Linked DNA regions of Homo sapiens: region 1 is linked to region 2. The links are contacts of gene promoters, found by promoter capture Hi-C in human tissues and cell types (Jung and others, 2019). All regions are on one chromosome and are shown on one strand. The core of a region is centred on a gene start or on the middle of the fragment in contact, and the rest is flanking DNA. Distances in the headings are between cores, read along the strand shown. Region 1 overlaps BANK1 (B cell scaffold protein with ankyrin repeats 1). Region 2 holds the start of BDH2 (3-hydroxybutyrate dehydrogenase 2).

Region 1 (3,585 bases), core at 448-2,947, 1.1 Mb after region 2:
TATTTGAAACCAATGGGAACAAAGAAACAATGTACCAAAATGTCTGGGAAACAAGTAAAGCAGTGTTTACAGGGGAATTTTTAGCACCAAATGTCCACAGGAGAAAGTGGGAAAGATCTAAAATCGCCACTCTTACATCGCAATTAACAGAACTAGAGAAACAAAAGCAAACAAATTCAAAAGCTAGCAGAAGACAAGAAATAACTAAGATCAGAGCAGAACTGAAGGAGATAGAGGCACAAAAAAACTTTCAAAAATCAATGAATCCAGGAGCTGGTTTTTTTAAAAAATTAGCAAAATAGACTACTAGCCAGAATAATTAAGAAGAAAAGAGAGAAGAATCAAATAGACACAATCAAAAATGACAAAGGGGATATTACCACTGATCCCACAGAAATACAAACTACCATCAGAGAATACTATAAACACCTCTATGCAAATAAACTAGAAAATCTAGAAGCAATTGATAAATTCCTGGACACATACACCATCCCAAGACTAAACCAGGAAGAAGTCGAATCCCTGAATAGATCAATAACAAGTTCTGAAATTGAGGCAGTAATTAATAGCCTAACAATAAAAAAAAAGCCTAGTACCAGATGGATTCACAGCTAAATTCTACAAGAGGAGCTGGTACCATTCCTTCCGAAACTATTCCACACAATAGAAAAAGAGGGAGTCCTCCCTAACTCATTTTATGAGGCCAACATGATCCTGATACCAAAACCTGGCAGAGACACAACAAAAAAAGAAAATTTCAGGCCAATATCACTGATGAACATCAGTGCAATAATTCTCAATAAAATACTGGCAAACTGAATCCAGCAGTACATCAAAAAGCTTATCCACCACGAACAAGTCGGCTTCGTCACTGGGATGCAAGACTGGTTCAATATATGGAAATCAATAAACATAATCCATCACATAAACAGAACCAATGACAAGAACCACTTGATTATCTCAATAGACGCAGAAAGGACCTTCAAAAAAATTCAACACCCTTTCATGGTAAAAACTCTCAAAAAACTAGGTATTGATGGAATGTATCTCAAAATAATAAGAGCTATTTATGACAAACACACAGCCATTTTCATACTGAATGGGCAAAAGCTGGAAGCATTCCCTTTGAAAACAGGCAAAAGACAAGGATGCCCTCTCTCACCACTCCTATTCAATATAGTATTGGAAGTTCTGGCCAGGGCAATCAAGCAAGAGAAAGAAAAAAAGGGTATTCAAATAGGAAAAGAGGAAGTCAAATTGTCTCTGTTTGCAGATGACATGATTGTATATTTAGAAAACCCCATCGTCTCAGCCCAAAATCTCCTTAAGCTGATAAGCAACTTAGTAAAGTGTCAGGATACAAAATCAATGTGCAAAAATCACAAGCATTCCTATACACTAAGAACAGACAAACAGAGAGCAAAATCATGAGTGAACTCCCATTCACGATTGCTACAAAGAGAATAAAATACCTAGGAATACAACTTACAAGGGATGTGAAGGACCTCTCTTCAAGGAGAACTACAAAACACTGCTCAAGGAAATAAGGGAGCACACAAACAAATGGAAAAACATTCCATGCTCATAGAAAGGAAGAATCAATATAATGAAAATGGTCATACTGCCCAAAGTAATTTATAGATCCGATGCTATCCCCATCAAGCTACCATTGACTTTCTTCACAGAATTAGAAAAACACTACTTTAAATTTCATGTGAAATCAAAAAAGAGCCCATATAGCTAAGACAATCCTAAGCAAAAAGAACAAAGCTGGAGGCATCATGCTACCTGAATTCAAACTATACTACAAGGCTACAGGAACCAAAACAGCATGGTACTTGTACCAAACAGATATATGGACCAATGGAACAGAACAGAGGCCTCAGAAATAACACTACACATCTACAACCATCTGATCTTTGACAAACCTCGAAAAAATAAGCAATGGGGAAAGGATTCCCTATTTAATAAATGGTGTTGGGAAAACTGGCTAGCCATATGCAGAAAACTGAAACTGGACCCCTTCCTTACACCTTATACAAAAATTATACAAGATGGATTAAAGACTTAAATGTAACCCCAGAAGAAAACCTAGGCAATACCCTGCAGGACATAGGTATGGGCAAAGACTTCGTGACTAAAACACCAAAAGCAATGGCAACAAAAGCCAAAAGTGACAAATGGGATCTAATTAAACTAAACTAAACTTCTGCACAGCAAAAAAACTATCATCAGAGTGAAAAGGAAACCTACAGAATGGGAGAAAATTTTTGCAATCTATCCATCTGACAAAGGGCTAATATCCAGAATCTACAAGGAACTTAAACAAATTTAAAAGAATGAAACAAACAACCCCATCAAAAAGTGGGTGAAGGATATGAACAGACACTTCACAAAGGAAGACATTTATGTGGCCAAAAAACATATGAAAAAAAGCTCATCATCACTGGTCATTAGAGAAATGCAAACCAAAATCACAATGAGATACCATCTCATGCTAGTTAGAATGGAGATCATTAAAAAGTCAGGAAACAACGATGCTGGAGAGGATGTGGAGAAATAGGAACACTTTTACACTGTTGGTGGGACTGTAAACTAGTTCAACCATTGTGGAAGTCAGTGTGGCGATTCCTCAGGGATCTAGAACTGGAAATACCATTTGACCCAGCAATCCCATTACTGGGTATATACCCAAAGTATTATAAATAATTCTACTATAAAGACACATGCACATACATGTTTATTGCAGCACTATTTATAATAGCAAAGATTTGTAACCAACCAAAATGCCCATTAATGATAGACTGGATAAAGCAAATGTGACACATATACAACATGGAGTACTATGCAGCCATAAAGAAGAATGAGTTCATGTCCTTTGCAGGGACATAGGTGAAGTTGGAAACCATCATTCTCAGCAAACTAACACAGGAACAGAAAACCAAATACCACATGTTCTCACTCATAAGAGGGAGCTGAATCAGAACGCATGGACACAGGGAGGGGAACATCACACACCAGGGCCTGTCAGGTGGTGGGGGGTTAGGGGAAGGATAGCATTAGGAGAAATACCTAATGTAGATGACGGGTTGATGGGTGCAGCAAACCACCATGGCACATGTATACCTATGCAACAAACTGGCACGTTCTGCACATGTCTCCCAAAACTTAAAGTATAATTTTAAAAAAGAGGCAATATCAAAAAGTAAATTATGACAATAAGAATTCAAAAGTTGGGATAAAAAAAGAGACAACTTTTTTTGTTGTTGTTATAAACCTTGTAAAATGATTGGCTTCTCAGCTGTGACCCCATGAAACTTCTCTGTGCAATAAAGTGATTTTTCTAGTTTCACTCTCATTTTGAAATTGAAGAATTTTAAATATCACAAGAAATGTACTACCATGAATGAGAAAGATACGATAGGAATCAAAAGATACAGGTTTCCTGCTTTGCTAACAATGAGCTGAGTGTTTTTCCTCATCTACAAAATGAGGGAGTTGGAATAATTGATCTCTAAGGCCCCTATCAGCCCTAACATACTGCTTTTCTGATTCCATTTTCATGCACCATGTACAACAGCATGT
Region 2 (3,525 bases), core at 672-3,171:
AGAAAACAAGTAACTAATACTCTTTTAATACGAGCTAATCACAATGTAAAGGTGTAAAACATAGTCCCCACCCTTGAAGAAATTTAGTCTGCTGAGAATACTAATGGGTAAGCAAGTATTTGCAATACCATGTGACTTAGGCTGTTATCAAGTAAGCATTGTTGCTGAAGATTACAGAGGGATGCTGAAGAAAGCTACATCAAGAAGCATTGGAGTTGGCTTTGATTAGAGAACTCTCATAAAGTCTGTTCCAAAAGCCTCAAAAGTCAAAGGGCATTATTAGTAAAGCAGGAACAAAGCTAGATGTGATTACAGATTGTTAGAGCCAGCATTAGAAGTTGCTGAAACAATGAACAAGGAGGGACAATTTTACCATAGACCTCATATAGACACATGCAGAAACTAAGTCCAGTTTTTAAAAGAACATTAAAAAGCGCAACTTTTACCATCCATTATAATTAAATTTCTCCAACAATGTCTTCATCATAAGAATCACTAACATGTATTAAGCACCTGTGTGGCAAACATTGTGCTGATGGATTCACAGGCTTAGTCGTTCCTCCTCACCACATCCCTGAGGTAGGTGCTATTTTACCTTCATTTTACAGATGAGAAACATAAGAGGTTCAGAGATTTAAGTGATTTACTCACTTAGCTAGTGAGAGAGAGATATGGGACTTGCTCTAGTCTTACTGACGCCACAGTCTTTGTTCTTATCCCCTGTGACTGTTAGAAATCACTTAGCTCCATGTAACAAAAAACGTGAAAAACACTAAAGTTTATTGTCCTCACATAAGAAGTCCAGAGGAGTTGTTGCCTTGAGGCTGTCATCAGGGCCGCAGGCTCCTTCTCTTGCTGGTCCCTGTCGTTAATGTGTGCCTCTGGCCTCAGATGAACTCACTAAATGGCTGCTCTGTCCCACGGCATCCTATCTTCATTCCAGGCAAAAAGAAAGGGAGGAGCAAAAGCTAAAAGCCTTTCAGAAGGGCTTACTTTTCTATTTAAGAAGGAGGCCCTCCTCAGAAATTCCCACCTGCATTTCATTGGCAACATCTATGCTGCTTGGCCACCCCTAGCAGCAAACAAGGCTATGAAGTAGAGACTTTTGTTTTCCAGCTTTGACAAGTGAAAAAAGGGGAAAGTGAGTTGGATGGGTGCTGAGGAAACCAATTTATACAGTACATGTACAAGTAGCCTACACAATCACTCTGCTCACTGGCACTACAGATAAAGCACATGTTGCTATCCTAACCTAGAGGGCTCATGAGATCTAGTCCTTTCTTTTTGACCTTATATCTCTGTTCTCTTCAGCCAAACTGGGGTTTTTCGCTGTTAACATGTTCCCTTTTAAGCCTCCACCCTGTCATCCAAGTTTCACGTTCTCCCCAACCCCATTCCCAGTGTAGTAAAAGGCTCCTGGCATTCTGCCACTAAATGTGCATTAGTGTTAGAATATTCTGAGCATGAAAAAATAAAAATCACAACTGTATCTCAAACAAAAAGGATTTTTTTTTTTATTTCTCTCCCTTAAAACAATCCAGGCCAAGTGACAGGAAGGCTCCAGAATTTTCAGTGACCTGGGTTCCCTCTATTTTGTTGCTCTGCTATCTTCCACACGCAGTTTCCAGCTCAGCCAATCTCGTCTACCCTGGCACCGCATATAGTAGGCATAAACAAAACAGAGAAGTGGAGAGACTGAAGTGAAGGAAATGATTTCCGCATCCTAAGTAAGCTCTAAGGTGCTTTTCCACTTTTCACCTTCCACTTGGAATTCATAGTTCTACCTGAATTCCACTAGATGGCAGCACATACATTTATAAAGTGTATGGATGGAGCCACTAAACTCTGAAAGCAGGGAAACTACAAATCCCAGCATGCATTATTAAGCGCTTGACTTGCTTCCAGACAAAGGTTGTCTCAAGTTTGTTGCTCAAACCGAGTTCTGGAGAACGCCATCAGCTCGCTGCTTAAAGTAAGATTTCCTAATACTTTTGAAATGAAACTTTAGAACGGAAAGAGGGGAGGTTTAATTTTTAGATGTTGTTTTTTTCTGCACGTTGCCTGTTTCAAAATTAATCTGAGCAGTTAGATCAGTGTAAAGATGGGTTTTTAAAGAGCCTGAAACTCTGTGGTATGTATGTTTTATAAAGTAGCCCAAGAAAAAAGGATTCTTACGGTATCCTAAGTGAAGAGTTTTCTTCCTGGCTCTTGAAAACAATGGCTTCCTGAATATGCTGTTTGTGTCTCTGCTAATCAAAAATCAACATTTTGATTCTAACTTTTGGACTAAGGAAGCCAACATGTATGGTTTTCACATTGGATATATTGAGAGGTGCCTTGTTTTACCATTTCAGGCCGTGTTTGCTCTCATTTTCTCAAAGAAATCTGTTTTAGTTTGAGATTACAGTTTATCAAATGTTAAGGCTTTGACCCCAAAATCTGGTCCCAGAAAGACAGGAAGGCCAGCTAAGAGGAGGTTTTCAGAGTGCATAGAAAGGCTGCTCTGTGCTTCGGCATTTGTTCTGGAAGTGCTTCTTCGGTTGGCAAAGATTCCTAGCAAAACCTTTGACTGGAGGCTTTACAGGGCCATACACCCAATATCACTAATGACAGTGTTGTAAAATAGCTTTTGTGCACCATGCTTAGGATTCAAGGAGGATAAAGTATATCTTTCTAAAGTTATACTTTAGAAACTGTCATTCCATGTTGAAATGATAAACATTCCATGTTTATCTTTTGTGTAAGAAGTAAAAAAGCAAAAATTCATTGCATCAAAGTAGGTCAGGCACTGTTAAAGCCAAGCTTCCCCATCGCCTAAAAAATGTGGACAAACTCAGAGGAAGTCAGTGATTATAAGCTGATCCCTGGAGCCAGTTCTTACATAATTGTGTTAGTCTGCTCCTCCAAGAAGCAGACTCCAAGATAGAATTAAATATGCATGGATTTTATTAGGGGAAATGCTGTTGTGAGAGAGAATGAGGAGAGAACTAGGTAAGGCTGTGAGAGCCATCAGACCTCGATGCAAGTCCACCCGCGAGGGAGGAAAAGAAGGAAACCAGGTTGAGTGGAAGCATCCCAGACAGCTGTGCAGTCTAAGAGAACTTCAGCAAGGTAATAAGGAGCTTCTCTAGCCAGTCATCCGTTGGGGAGGAGGTCTATGTCTCCCAGAAATGAGTCTGCCTTAGTAAGCATGCATGCTCAGGCACTGGCTTGTAACGGCCCCGAGAAGGTGGCCTCAGCACAAACCCAGAGAGGCAGCAGCAGCTGCGCCTCATTGTCCATTACTTCCTGGGGTCAGCGGTCTGCGAGGCACAGGCTCCTGGTGCCACAGTGGGGATTTAGAGAGGCCCGCAGGGCTTTGAGTACCATGAGACAATGCCATGAGATCTTCCCTTGGACCTGCAACAAGAAGGCCTAGGTTTGAATTCATAGCTGCAAAACACTGGGCAAATAACATTTCTTTGAAATTAGCCACGTTGGTGATCAGGTCCTACCTATCTCATCTCTGAAACACTTCTCCAATCC

What was found. The method cuts DNA at HindIII sites, captures the fragments that hold promoters and counts their contacts. A contact is called where the count stands out against the background at its distance.
Region 1: a fragment that was not itself captured here is called in contact with the fragment with the promoter of BDH2 in region 2 in 1 of the 25 tissues and cell types used here (aorta).

Annotation. Positions count from the first base shown.
Region 1 is chr4:101,994,557-101,998,141 of GRCh38, reverse strand. All of the region lies in intron 7 of BANK1 (B cell scaffold protein with ankyrin repeats 1), which reads right to left. Among named protein-coding and RNA genes, the nearest start is that of BANK1, 210 kb to the right of the region's middle. The HindIII fragment of the contact is 6,310 bases long and covers 1-3,585 here.
Region 2 is chr4:103,098,230-103,101,754 of GRCh38, reverse strand. BDH2 (3-hydroxybutyrate dehydrogenase 2) reads left to right here and starts at 1,921. Exons shown (of 10, transcript NM_020139.4): 1 at 1,921-1,972. The HindIII fragment of the contact is 9,040 bases long and covers 1-3,525 here.